2 separate regions of the Homo sapiens genome follow, and region 2 is linked to region 1. The links are contacts of gene promoters, found by promoter capture Hi-C in human tissues and cell types (Jung and others, 2019). All regions are on one chromosome and are shown on one strand. The core of a region is centred on a gene start or on the middle of the fragment in contact, and the rest is flanking DNA. Distances in the headings are between cores, read along the strand shown.

The links. Contacts are between HindIII fragments. The study calls those that stand out against the background at their distance.
Region 2: a contact is called between a fragment that was not itself captured here and the fragment with the promoter of SYNPO2 in region 1, in 1 of the 25 tissues and cell types used here (aorta).

What each region holds. Positions count from the first base shown.
Region 1 is chr4:118,885,002-118,892,559 of GRCh38, reverse strand. SYNPO2 (synaptopodin 2) reads right to left here and starts at 3,706. Exons shown (of 5, transcript NM_133477.3): 1 at 3,419-3,706. The coding sequence starts at 3,523. The HindIII fragment of the contact is 17,765 bases long and covers 1,916-7,558 here.
Region 2 is chr4:119,290,053-119,297,610 of GRCh38, reverse strand. USP53 (ubiquitin specific peptidase 53) reads right to left here. Exons shown (of 19, transcript NM_001371395.1): 18 at 6,350-6,446; 19 at 2,093-5,273. The coding sequence ends at 4,400. It overlaps ARLN (allregulin), which reads left to right. Exons shown (of 2, transcript NM_001001701.4): 2 at 1-1,192. Among named protein-coding and RNA genes, the nearest start is that of ARLN, 6.8 kb to the left of the region's middle. The HindIII fragment of the contact is 3,844 bases long and covers 2,479-6,322 here.

The DNA of each region.
Region 1 (7,558 bases), core at 2,457-4,956:
TATGTCCTGAGACAGGGCCAGATAAGTACATGTCCCAAAAGAGAGAGTTTCATAAAGAAGAAGTGCTCACATTCTTTTTGTAAAGCTATCTGCACACACAGTGGGGTTTTCTGTTTGGATAAATTTGTTTCTGTTTATAATCTCTTGAAAATATACTTTGCAGAGTGTTATGCTATAACTCAGTGTTAGAAATGTTTGCCTCCCATCACATATATTTAGAATATAAATTAAAAGATATACAAACATTTTAAAAACAAGCTTATGTTACTGATTACTTGGGCTTTTAAAAATTTGGTTTATTTTTTAAAACAAAACAGATTTTCGTGCCATTGAGCTTAACCGTCAATGACAAGTTTTGATAATGAATATTCCTGTTATTTATCTTTAAAATTTGGGGTTTGCGTATAGTTCAACCAGCTAACCAAATACTAAACATGTTTGAACATATCTCAGAAGTGACTAAATATGTCAATATAAGGATATTTATCGGGAATTATAAAGTTATTCAATTTTTTATTGTTCTTAATAACATTAGACTGTTTTTTTGCACTATTTCTGCCTGTTAGATTTTTACTCTATATAGAATTATGAAAAACCTAAATATGTAGATATTTCACAAAAAGCCAAAATGTGTTATTGTCTACAGAACTGCTTTGTAGCATTCCCATTTTAAGGAGCATGGTTCAAGCACTCGCCGAAATTTTCTTTTCTTTGAAAATTTAAGTTTTCCTTCAACTCCCAAATTAATTTTGTGCATGTTATTCAAAACTGTGAACATTTGATTTGACAGCAACCATCTCTCTAGCCTTTCTGTCTCTTTCCTTGCATCCAGCCCTAATAAGCTATCACCAGTCCTTACAAGAAGAGAAAGTTTATGCCCAAGCAACATTCACTTTGCCTTGAACACATTGAGATACCATGAATAGAATTGAATTGACTTAATATTTTAAATAAAATACAGTGATCCTAATGAGGCAATGGCCTTGATAACAGAGAAAGTGATAAGCGCTTTGTTCCAAGGGATTTCTCCCACAAATAATGCTAGTATAAGAAATCAAACATAATCATTTGAACTAAAAAAAGAAAAAGACCAACAAAAATTGTGCATTGCCACAGTAATTTAGAACTTACATCTTCTATAGATAGCTCTTTAGTCTTTTTAACGTATGGACAAAAGGTAGACTGTAGACTACAGTCTGTCTCTCTCTCTCTCTTGCACACACAAACACACAAAAATTAAGGCAAACTTCCAGATACTTTTATAATGATATTTTAAAATCTATAGCTCTAAGTATAGTATCACAAACTACAAAAGCAAAGCAAACATCTAGATGCCTTAATAATGATCTTTTGAAAACCACAAATGTATTGCTGGGTATTTTAGGAAGGATGATTTAGGGGGAGTGTAGGACTGGATTCTGACATAGCCTAACAACCTTACTGAATCCTGAAAATAGAGATGCCATTAGCAGAGAATCTCCACAGCACCCTTTCCTAGCAATCTGCTTCAGCTCTTCAGTGAATCGCCGCAAAGAGGTCCCACATTGAAATCGTCACATGCAGAACTCAGAAGAAACCCACTACCCACTCTATTCTTGAGGCCTGGCTGCCAAAGAGCCACCAGAGAACAACAGCACTCAGCCACTCTGTCCCCATATTTCAATTAGTAGGCAAGCGATTCTAAAACTGTACACTATCAGGATCGTAGAATACTTGGGCAAGACAGAGCTTCGTAGACTGCACAGTCCAATTTCTTTCTTACTTCTTTACCACCTAAGTTAAAATATTTGTCTCTCTCTCCCTACACACACACACACACACACACAGAGAGAGAGAGAGAGAGAGAGAGAGAGAGAGAGAGAAACCGATGAGACAGGAAGGGTGAGAGATTTTCCTAAGGCCAGGCTGCAAGTTAGATCAGAGCTGGAATTAGAACCCAAATCTCATACCTAGAGCCAGCCAACTGCTATTCTAGACTCAGGACAAATCTGCTTCAGTGTCATGAATTCTACATATGCTAAATTGGGCATTCATATTTTATCTGAGGTTGCCTGCTATTGACTCCTAAAGGAACCCAACAAAACCACCTTTCTGAGCCTTTAATCACTCTGCCAGTTCCAAGCTGAAAACTTAAGGCAAGTTACTTAACATCTCTGGGCTCTTTCCTCATCTAAAATTCATGGGTTGAACTGCAGACCTCGGAGGAACTTTCCAGTAATAAAAACTCTGCTTTTCATCTACTGTTTTATGGTTCATTCTTGATGTTTGCAATTTTCACTAGGTGGCAGGATTCCACCATCACATTACGAAAGGATTTACATATGATGCCTGGAAGCAAAAAGGAGTTTCAAAGAAACTTCTTTCTTCGCAAAGGACACTAAAAAAAAAAAAACGTAAAAGGCAGAGGGAAACAATAACTACAAAAAAAAAAGAGTAAAAGCCAGAGGGAAACAAACAATAACTACAAAGGCAATGGCCCATGTATTTCATAAAGATCTGTACCCATTTTTAATATAAGCATAAAATAGGAAATTAATCCCATGCTCTTGCATGTTCTTCAATACAATACTATAATTTGCAATTTGATGATAAGGTTAGGTAAAAGTTTGCTTAGTTTTGTGCATTTTAAGTTTTATTTTAGCTGAATGCCAATTAGAGAATACCAGATCCCCTTGGGCTAACCAGTAATGCAGGCAATCTAATGGCAATAAAAACTTAAAGCATTTTAAATAGTTATTAATGTGTTACAAAGTTACCTCTTAGTTACTCATAATATATTTAGATTATCTTCTAAGTTTATTTTTGAGATCTTGACCAAAAGAGTACATAAGAAGGAATACAGCATTTATTGGATTTTTGCATTTATTTGTCAAATCCTTAAAAGGGTATTCTTTTAAATAGATTTTATGACACTTCATCATACTTTTAAAATTATTGCCCAACATTGGCCTTTTCATGAATGCTGCATAATAAATGTCACTACCAACACTCTATATGAGTCCCCAAAATAGCCAAGCAAAGTCGTTATGCTGAACTGAGCGTTTCTCCTCTGCCAGAGCCAAGTGAAGTGACATCAAACAATAACTCAACTGAACATTCTAAAATTGCCTGGAAGAAACGCTCCCCAGTGTCTTGCTTGTTGTCAGAAGAACATGGTTAACTAGGCCTTTTCCTCAGCTGATAAATATGGCATTCTTCCCACCCACCCCTCATCGATTGCAAGTTAATTACATAGGATGTGGCCCATTACTCTCCAAAGTTTCTTAGAAAATAACTCACTTCCTAGAAAAATCTTAATATCCGCAGCAAAATCAAATAATACTTAGACTTCTGCATCAGAACCTGAAAACACCATCAGCAGGTTGCTTTCATTCCTTCCTTCCTAGCACAGAGCCGTGACACTTCGTTCAGGTCCTACCTTTGCAACTTGTAAGGGCTGCTTCTGCTCCTTGCCACCTTGCAATCTGAACCCCCAGGGCGCCCCTCCAGTCATGGAAATGCAGATAAAATCCCCTGTGCCCATGTTTTCCTTTTAGTTGGGCAGCATGAAGAGCTTGACGAGACAGACGAAGCTTGGGTGCGGTAGAGGATGCGCACTCAGCTTCGGGCGCCTGCCGAGGACGCAAGACTGGGTAATGCAGAGCGTCCGCCGCTGCTGCAGCCGCTGCCCCAGCCGCCGCCCCAGCCGCCTGCTGCGAATTTGTGCGGCTAATGGGCTCATTCTCAAGGAGGCAGAGGCGCTCGCAGCATCCAGGACACAGCCCACTCTTGCGTCACTCTCCTTTGCTCGGCCCACCTTCGAGGAAAGGAAAGCAGCTTCACACACAGGAGAATGTCCTCACGTGGGGCGAGATAAGGGAAAGGAGGACGGAAGGGAGAGCCAAAGTTATCTTGCACTAACAGATTAAATCCAAGCAGTTAATGGTATAAGTATGATTGAAAAACTTACATTTAATAATTCTGTAAATAGTAAAGGACACATGAAGGTTTAATCTCCACGCCATGAATGACGTCCTAAAATAGGAGCGTTGGGAATTCAACTACTAGAGGATTAGATTCTCTCAAATAAATGTTTTGAGACTTGCCACATTTATGAATGGAATAGACAAAAAAGAGTTAAAATGAGTTAAATTACTACTTTTCTGTCTGCATTCTGCTGAATTATTCCTATAAGAGGAAACAAAAGAAAGCACAAACTTTTTGTTAATAAACCTCCAGCTCTGAAAAGTACCTTTCTGAACCATATATTTAGAGAAAGGGGAAGAGAAGAGACAGAAAGGGAGAGAGAAAGAGAGAAAATGAATATGAATTTTTCTCCTGGAAACTACATTCTTATAATTACATCTATTGCATAGTTTTGGGTATGTTAAATTTTAACGTGTTTTGTTTTCTTTCTACCTGCTGATCTTCTTAAACCCAAACCCAACAGTTAGTCAACTGCATAAAATGTACAATGTCACCTACAGGTTTCTTATTTTTATAGTTTGTCATCCCATGTCATGAATCTGGGTGGTCCAATATAAAAGCAGATTTTGTATATTCCAAATATTTAAATGTTTTAAATCTGAATACAATCTGCCAAAAATGTACAAAAAGGACATTTTAATTTTCCTATAATACTTTTGTTTTCCATAACATTCATCCACATAAAAACATACTAAATAAGGAAGAGCCTGGGAAAGTTTGTTTGTGTTACTTGTGGTACCAAACAAAATTTCCAGACACGCTGCCTGTTTCAGCACTAAGAAGCACTATATACAGTAAGTCCTCACTTAAAACGTCACAGATAGGTTCATGGAAACTGTGACTTTAAAACCAATTTTACCATCGACTAATTGATAAAAACAAGGTTAAGTGACTACAGTCTATTTCTGGTCACAAAGACATCACCAAACTTTTAAATAAGATTAAAACACTTCTAATATTAAACATGGAAATAAATGTCAGCTACACATGCATTTAAGAAAGATTAATAAAAACAAGATAATCATGGACCCAATTTTTGGTGAATCAGTGAGTGAGGGCAGCTGTAGTGGTGGTGGATTCAATCAAGGAATAAATGTTTGCAAAAGGAAAATTATAAGGAGTACCTCCTGTCACAATGCAGTTCAAAACCACCACAAATATAGCAGGCTCACTGAGAAATTTCATACAGCATCATCTATTGCTGTGCATTTGTGTGATTAACATATATTTTATGAATTTTTTTTGAAAATAATTTGCATCCATACATTCATTCCTCCTCCAACCCACTTATTCCCATTCAGGATCTCCAGTGGCTTGAGCCTCTCCCTGCAGCTTAGGGCGCAAGGCAGGAATCAGCCCTGGACAGCCCTGACCATCCCATCAGAGGGTGCACACACACACACACACACACACACACACACACACACTCACTCAGATGGGGACCATTTAGACATGCCAGTTCATCTCATGAGCACAGCTTTGGGATGTGGCAGGAAACCAGAGGACCTGGAGAAAACCTATACAGACATGGGGAGAACTTTCAAACTCCATACAAACAGTGGCCCCAGCTGGAAATACATTTTTTTTTCTCATCAATGTTGTCATGAAACAATGTTGAATAAAATGGCATTATTCAAGGACCTGTGGTACAATGAACATTTTACACAGCCCATGCTCCCCAGAAGCCAAAGGCATCAAGTGATTTTATTTGTGACTCATCACTGGAGTGAGGACAATGAAATCAGAGATTGTGGCACTGGAAGAGACCCTTTGAAGGTCATGAGGGCCAGATACTCATCCCAAGTTTGATTCTTTTCAGAAACACGAATTGACTTTCCCAGTCTTTCCTTTAAACAATAGTTACAAGAGACATCATAAAATATGAGCTTTGACACTAATTACAATAGCAAAGACTTGGAACCAACCCAAATGTCCATCAGTGATAGACTGGATAAAGAAAATATGGCACATATACACCATGGAATACTATGCAGCCATAAAAAAAGAATGTGTTAATGTCCTTTGCAGGGGACATGGATGAAGCTGGAAGCCATCATTCTCAGCAAACTAGCACAGGAACAGTAAACCAAACACCACATGTTCTCACTCATAAGTGGGAGTTGAACAATGAGAACACATAGACACAGGGAGGGAAACATCACACACTGAGGCCTGTCGGAGGGTGGGGTACAAAGGGAGGGAGAGCATTACGACACATAACGCATGCGGGGCTTAAAACCTAGATGACGGGTTGATAGGTGCAGCAAACAACCATGGCACATGTATACCTATGTAACAAACCTGCATGTTCTGCACATGTATCCCAGAACTTAAAGTAAAAATTTTTAAAAAATGAGCTCTGAGAACAAAGAAAAAAAACACTTTCATATTTGTTCTTTTTACTTTTTCATGTCCCTTCTGCTCCTCAATCCACTCAAGTCTAGCTTCAAATTAGTGATGGTGTCCTCCTTAAATCATTTCTCCCTTAGGCTTCTTGGGCCCAGCAAGCTCTAGGCTTTCTTCTTGCCTCTGTAGCCACTCTTATCAAAGATTTATTCTGTGCAGGAACTTGAAATATAATGTTGTATTTATTTTCAAAGCAACCATGCTAGATAGGTATTAGTGTTTCTCTTTTACTGATAATTAACAGTGCTTTAAATCCTAAGCGATAGAGCCAGGGTTTGAACTTTTGTCTGCCCGAATTTGTCTGCCCTAATACCTATTCTTAATCATTGCTATTCTGCCTCCAGGTCTTATGTATTCCCTGATGCTTATCTCATGCAACCAATTATCCATTAAGACCTATGGATCTGGCTATGCGCAGTGCTGCATGCCTGTAATCCCAGCATTTGGGGAAGACAAGGTGGGCAAGGTGGGTGGATCACTTGAGGTCAGGAGCTCAAGACCAGCCTGGCCAACATGGTGAAACCCCATCTCTACCAAAAGTACAAAAATTAGCTGGGCGTGGTGGTGCACACCTGTAATCCCAGCTACTCGGGAGGCTGAGGCAAGAGAATTGCTTGAACCTGGGAGGCAGAGGTTGCAGTGAGCCGAGACCGTACCACTGCACTCCAGCCTGGGCAATAGAGCAAGACTCCATCTGAGAAAGAAAAAAAAAAAAAAAGACCTATGGATCTAACTTCTAAATAGTTTGGAAATCTGCTCCTTCCCTCATTTCCTACTCCTGGGACCATGTCTATCTCTGACCTGGACTTCAACAGTCTCCTAACTGTTGTCTCTATTCCAGGCTTGTTTCCACCCTCAATTCATTTTTTACTCCAAAGCCAGGGTGAAATTTTGAAATATAATGTCTATGTTATTTTTCCTATAGTTCAAATCTTCAAGGGCTCCCGGATAAAGTCCGAACTTTTTTACATGGAAACACTTTCTGCCTCCCACTACCTACTTCTTCCACCTTGTTGCTTACTACCCCTACCTTGAATTTGATGATTCAGACACACAGAAGTACTGTTCTTTTCTCAAAATTGCTTTTTTGTTTCACCTGCTTAGGCATTTCTCCAAGCTATTCAGTCCTTGTCCACACATAAATCACCTAATAATTTCTCCTCATCCTCCGGCCTCAGATTAGAGA
Region 2 (7,558 bases), core at 3,151-5,650, 400 kb before region 1:
ATTAGCTGGGCATGTTGGCATGCACCTGTAGTCCCAGCTATTTGGGAGGCTGAGGCACGAGAATTGCTTGAATCCGGGAGGTGGAGGTTGCAGTGAGCCAAGATGGGGCCACTGCACTCTAACGTGGGCAACAGAGACCCTGTCTCAAAAAGAAAATATTCCTGTTAGCCCTAAAGGCTTTACATGAGGAATGGTAGAAGTGGTCTTTTGTTTAAATTAGTTGCATTCAGCATATATGAATTGTCTTAAATATTTTGGGGATACTCCCCCGCCTTTTAAACAGGGCATAAGATCTGGTAAACTCTCTGTATATCTTCCTACCTTTCAAAATCGTTCTTAGGGTTAGTCAAGTCTGGAATATAATTGCTGACTATAAAGTTAGCAATTATGCTTTTAAGGTGTTGTCACATCAACCTAAAGAGAACCATCTATGGAAGGTATGGTTGAAACATCTGTAGGAACACAGAACTGGGATTTCACTGAGTTTACCAAATCAACTGTGTGAACTGTTTCTGCACTGCTTGCTAATGGTTTCATCTAATAAATGTTTACTTATATAGCTGAGTTTGGTTTTATTCTAACAAATTACCTGGTGGTGTGATTGTGAGGTGATTAACAGTTCTCACATAGTTTACTGTTAGGTCACACACAGACTTCCGATCATAATCCATACTGCCTTTTTGAGCCTAAAATCAGCCTACTACCACAATTACCAAATATTCTGAAAATTTCTAGTATGGTGAAGATGGAGAGATCTTGGTGTGAAGGTTAATTTTATATGTCATCTTGATTATGCTAGGAGATGCCCAGATTTCTGGGTTTGTCCATGAGGGTGTTTCCAGAAGAGATTAGCATTTGAATCAGTAGACTGAATAAAAAAGAGCCACCCACTCCACTGCGGGTGGGCCAACCCCTTGAGGGCCTAGCTGGAATAAAAAGGCAGAGGAAGGGCAAATTCTGTCTTCTCTCTGCTTGAACAGGGACATCCATGTTCTATCCTTGGACATTGGTTCTCCTGATTCTCTGGCTTTCAGACATGGACCAGGGCCCCTGGTTCTCAGACCTTTGGGTTTGGACTGGAACTACACCATTGGCTTTCCTGGGCTTACTGTCTGCGGAAAGCAGATTGTGGGACTTCTCAGCCTCCATAATCACAAGAGCCAATCCCTCATAATAAATTTATTTCTATATATATCCTGTTGATTCTCTTTCTATGGCAAACCCTGACTTAGTAATATGACATGACTGTAATTGGCATTTTCAAAATGGTGGCAGTATGAAGGCTGAATCTTTCCTATAGGTAAGAAATTGTACCTACCATTAAACTGTGCCATAGCAAGTATAGTGACTGCTTACATTGCCCTCAGTTTGAAGGCTTTTAAGAAGTGGATAAATGGAACGCCAAGAAAAGTTGCAAACTTGCTAAGATAACAAAACAAAAAAGACATCAAAAGAAAATGTGACTTTACTCTGATAAATTCTTTTGTAAATTTCACACCATTTTATATAAAGTGAAATGATTGTTTTAGTAGTTCCTTTTGAAATGAACTGGCTTGTTAGCAGTTGCAAGGGATAGTTTTTAGGGAGCTTAACCTGAACGTTTTAGGATGTAAAGAGCTGCAAATACTCAGTCCGTAAGTGGCATGGGAGTACATTTGGAGACTTCAGCCTGTGAGCTAAGAATATTTTTTACATTTTAAAATGGAGAAAAAAAAAACTTTCATGACATGAAAGTTATATGCAATCTGGATTTCTATGTTGACAAAGTTTTACTGGAAAACAGCCATGCTCATTCATTTACATATTGTTTATGGCTGCTTTCACATTACAAAGGCAGAGTTGAGTAGTTATTACAGAAATATTATGGTCCACAAAGCCTAAATTATTTTCTATCTTTATAGAAAGTTTGCCAACTCCTTTTCTAAGGAGCTGTGCTTTAGACCTTGCTGGAGTTTAACTCCTAGGATCTCCTGTGATAACCGTTTATGATCAGTGAAATTCCAAGTACCCGCGACTTAACATGTCCCAAAATAATCCACGTTGGTGGGAGGGTGACACACAGTTCATGAATGCAAAGAGAAGTCCAATCATATAAACTTAAAAATCAGTTTATCTTAAAATTTTTTTGAATTAGAAGAAATTGATTTCACATGAAAATATAACATTCTGAAGGTAAGTATTTTAAACATTACAACTGTTGGCTGAAATATTTACAAAGTTATAATAAGCTTATAACTGGATGAAAGCATCTATAAAAATAAATAGGCACCCTAGATGTAAAACTTTTACATGAAATAAAATGATTAGTATATATGTATCAATCTGTATCTGGAGTGTTGAATCAACAAAAATAAATGGGCATTTTCTAGTTTGTGTAGTAGTACATGAGTCAGGAGGTTTCAACTGGACAGTACTTAAAAGAGGCAAAACTGGACATTTCTATTTGATATCTACAACTCAACTGAGTTGAAAAGACAAATGTCTGAGACTGCTGTTAAATACAAAAATTAGTTTAAATGTTTCAAATAATACATTTCCAACTCACATCTTAACCAAATAGAAAAAAAAAACTACACAAACTGTGAAAGCTATTAAAAAACTTGAAGCCCATTTTTCTAGTATCTTACAATGTTATAAAAGAAGAAAAACTTTGGTATTTTAAATACAGGTTTACAAACTTTACATTATTTACAAACCCTCCACACTAAAAAATTATGTTAAAAATAAGCTTTCTTAAAACAAAATTAATTTGGCATTCAAGTATTTCTAACTTACGAGAATATAAAGTAATGATCACTCACTATTATAGTTTAAAAAGGCTAGTAAAAACTATAGGCAGAAGATAAAATTTGGCCAAGACTTGGTAACTGGGTGAAGTTAGACTTTTATAAGCAATTATTTTCTGTTTAACAGTATTCACATTAAATTAGTTACAACATTTTAGAATGTTTTAACACGATTTACGCAATCAGTCAAGTGGCTACATTTACTAGTTTATTGAATATGAGGTTTATCCATTTAGCAATGTAAGGAAAACTTTAGTTCTGTTTCTCAGTTATCAGGAGTGAACATAAAACTATTCTAAACCACAATTAGTTTACCAGCATAGTACAAAATAAAATGACAACTAACGAAATAAAGCAATTAAAGTAACTTATTTTTACTCATAAGGTTACCATAATAATAAAAATTCCTTTAATTTTCAAAGCACTCTTCATGAAAAGTAGTTGGGGTAAAATTACTATTTGTTCAAAGTAGAATAAAAGGGAAGGATGCTCTAATTAAACATTTTATTAAAATTAAACTCTCTATATGAAAGGTAGAAATTTAATCTGGAAACCTAGATAGATTTTCAAATTCAGATAAAATGGGTTGACAACCTATAAGCAGGTAATATTACAGCAAAGAAAATGTAGGCAATTACAGTGACATTCCCAATAAGAGGGTGCCCTACATTAATTCCTAACACTGGTGGTTAGCAGCCCAAAGTAAACCAAACCAAAATAAAGACCTTTCACATTTCATATAAAATTAGAAAAAAAGTAACGAGATAAATAAATACACTAAAGTTTAAGTATTTTAACTTTTTAACTTACATGGCTAAAGTAGCATTTATGAATACCTATAATAGTCAAAGGCCTAATTTATCTTAACTAGATATTCTGAAGACAAAAATTCTAGGAGCAAAATTAAATTCCATCCGATCTTGAAAACTTACAAATTGTTAATCATATAAGGCTTTTTTTCCCCAAATGCTATCAAATTCATAAGTCATTTTTTTTAAAGACACTTAAAGGGATCATATGCAGTGACTATCATAGAAGTCAAAAACAAATGGGTGAAGCCCTTTTCTGGTTACCCATTAGAAAGTGCTTCTTCATAAAGCAATTCTTTGACAAAAAAGTACCAGGCTATGTATCACCTGGTACTTTTCAATTAGCATAGTTTATAATCTCCATACATGAGTACTGGTTAGTTTAATACTTCCCAGTCTACTGGCCACAAAATAGGGGGACAAATTTAATTTTTATTCAACTGTAGCATATGACAAATGAATTATTATATCTCCCTGATTTTCTATTTTTCACGGCACGCCAAGACTATTCAAAGGGAATTTCTAAAATATCTAAGATATTGATCATAAAATTATATATGTGTATACACATATACACATACATATGTATAGTGATTAACAACTTTAAAAATGCCACAGGCTTTAATTTTATGTATCACTAGGTTTGGTCAGTAGGTTCCTATTATATTTAAATGGCCTCTGAGAAGTAAAAGTTGGTCAGTTTTACCAGTTATCTATTACAATGTATGCTAGGTTTATATCTTTGTTCAGAAGGGCAGCTTGAACCAAGATTATTATGTAACACAGGTCTAGTCCTTTTTCACTCTAAGATAGTGAATTATTACAAAAGCCACTGCTCTCTGGAAAAGAGAGCTTGGGCCTCTGATGGTATTTCAATCTATATGTATCCGTCATGCAGCTATCAACTGAAAAATAGGTAGTTAATGAAACTGTCTCATTTGGACAGGTAGAAATAGAGTCTAGTTCTGGTTGGCAAAATGCATCAATGGCACCTGAGTTTGCCTGAAAATCGTTAGTTGAGGAGCTGGATGGACAGTTTGGTGTGTTGCCAAAACATTCTCTCACTTGAAATGTTTCTTTATGTCTTTCATCATTCATATGTGTACTCACTTCTAAACTTGGTTCTGAAGCTGTACTTAAACTGTGCTTCGGAAGATGAGAGGTAGCTTTAAACACCTCTGTAAGTTTGACATCAGGTGTAGATTCGCTTTTCTCTGACTGTGGCACACTGGTTATAGCATATTTCTTTGGTGGCAAAGGGGGTGGTAGATTCTGGCAAAAAAGTTTTGGCATCTGACACCCATCAGATCTGCTGGCTGACCGAATTATACATTCTGTGGATAGAGAGTTCTCAAAGTAACATTGATCCATGATATTTTGTTGCTGGATGAGAGGAGCAGTTTCTGGCTTTAACCCAACAGTTCTTAGGTGTGAAGACCATAATGAAGATGGTTCATTACTGTTCACTCTCTTCCCAGAAGCAGAGTTATCAACGTGAAAAGGCAAACCTGTTCTCTCAGAATTTTCTATATTAAGCCACTCAGAAAATTTGCATTCATTCGGTTTTTCAAGTTTCTGTTCATCTGACTGGTGGATATGTTCTCTTGCATTATGGTCCTTGGGTATTTGTAGACTGGATGAAGGAAATAACTTTCCATTGTCTTCATGTACATGTGATCTGAAATATGAAAATAAAAACAAAGCTAGAACACCCTATGCAAATATATGAAACTAGGGGAAAATAAACATTTGTTTTGTAGTTTGATTTTCCCAAAATACAGTTTATATTATTTTTACAACAAAACCACAAAAATGGAAAGATATTTGCAACCATTAACATTTTCAACTCTCTCCAAATCCAAACTCTTTATGTCAGAATATGTGAGTGTTTACCAGAAACACCCATCATTACCAGAATCCCATTTCTAATAATTAGAAATATAATTTTAAAAACTCACTTCAACTCAAAACACTAAAATTACATTTATTTGTAACAATATATAGAACTTGAGGAAAGTGTTAACAGTCAAACAGTACTCTAAAACATCTCCCCACCAACATTCCAAACTTTAAAGGCAATAGAGGTAGAAGTACTTAAATTTTGATATATAGCAGTATAGTATATTAATTACTTTATTATATTTTGCAAATATATTTATATTATATTTGAGGGTCTTGCTATGTTGCCTAGGCTGGCTTTAAACTGGCCTCAAGTGATCCTGCTGCCTCAGCCTCCTCAGTAGCTAGGATTACAGACATGTACCACCACATCACACCTGGCTGTATAATAGTTTAAAATAATGTAATCAAGATTATCTTTAGGTAATAGTTATTTTCTAAGGTGAGGGTAAATGATGCCATATTGCAAATTATTTTTCTTATATGAATTATGTGGAATTGAATTAGAATGCAATGGTTAAAGAGAGTTGAGGATTTGCTAGGTAGATGGAGCTATAATCAAATCTCAGCTCGATAGTTTTGGTCACATTACTTAACCTAAGCTTCAAATTTTCTCTTGTAAAATATCACCTACCTCATAAGAATGCTGTGAGGATTGAAACAGACAATCAGATACTGTACCTGGTACTTTGTAAGCTCTCTATCCTTAGATCCACATTGTATTAATGATTCCCAATAAGAAAGGCATCTCAATACTATAGACCCATTGCTTTCAAAGTAATAATATGTATTTATGCCCTTCTGATAAACAACGTGCCTATAATACATGTATTTAGGGAAAAAAAATATGGTTACCTTTTTATCAAATGATTTTTTATTTGTAAATGTGATTCTGGGTGGAATTCATGAGATTTATAGCCTGCTTCCAAATTCCTGAGTTCTTTTCTAAAGCCTAGGGTTGGGTGGGGTGGGGAGAAGAGATGAGGAAAACAAAATTATTTAAATTATGTTACAGAATTTATTTCATTTATACTTTTCTATATTTACATAAAGCTTTCTATAAAAGGTAATCTCTTCCAATTTAAAAAAATGAATTCTTTAAGACCCAACTCAAAATAACAGTTCTTTTTGGAATGCTTTATGCAAAATTTCTTCAGTTTATTATCACTTGAGGGTGTCATCCATGATGGAATAGTGCTGTTCCTGCTGGGTCATGCAGATCTGTGTATGTGTTTTCCCTGTTACTTAAGACAAGATCTTTACTGACCAAGTGTTAACAGTGAAAAAAACCCTGCATTTGAAGATCGCTGGCTTGAGTTGAAGTTTGGACTCACTAATTATGGGTAGGTAAACAAGCCTTTTAACCTCTTAAAATCTCAGTTCCCTCACTTATATAATGGGATAATGATAATCCATTTTACCTACCTCATGGGAATATTAGGAATTTAAACTGAATTAAAATTGGTAGGAGGTTATTATGATAGCATATAAAATATACCACTACTAATTAGCTACCATTTATTGACTGCTTACTCAAGTTGTGAGAAGTGGATATTTCATTTAATCTTTACAATAACCTTATAAAGAAATGACTAGCAACTTGATGTTACAGATGAGAAAACAGTGGCTTAGAAAGGTTAAGTATATATATCGATATACTACAGAATTAGATCTTTATGACTCAAAAGTCCGTGCTCTTAACCATGATGCCATAATGCTTCCTAATAATTGATACTTAACTTCTCTCCTGGTTCTGACATTTAATAGGCACCAAATAGTTTTTTAATTTAATTTTAATGAAGTCTTATGAAAAAAGTTATACTAATTTACAGTGTGACTTTTGTTACTTCCAAGTGTCTTCCAAGCCTGCTACATGAGATTTCAGATACCAAATTAATCATTTTTTCTCTCTCTCTAATTATAGCTAGCTATTGATTAGAACCTAAAGGTCAATATGGCACCACATAAAATACAGCAGGTCTATTTCCCTCTGAACAACGATTCTAGGAGAATTCACTGGAGAGCCTTTAACAATATTAATGTTCAGAGTAAAACATTATCTAC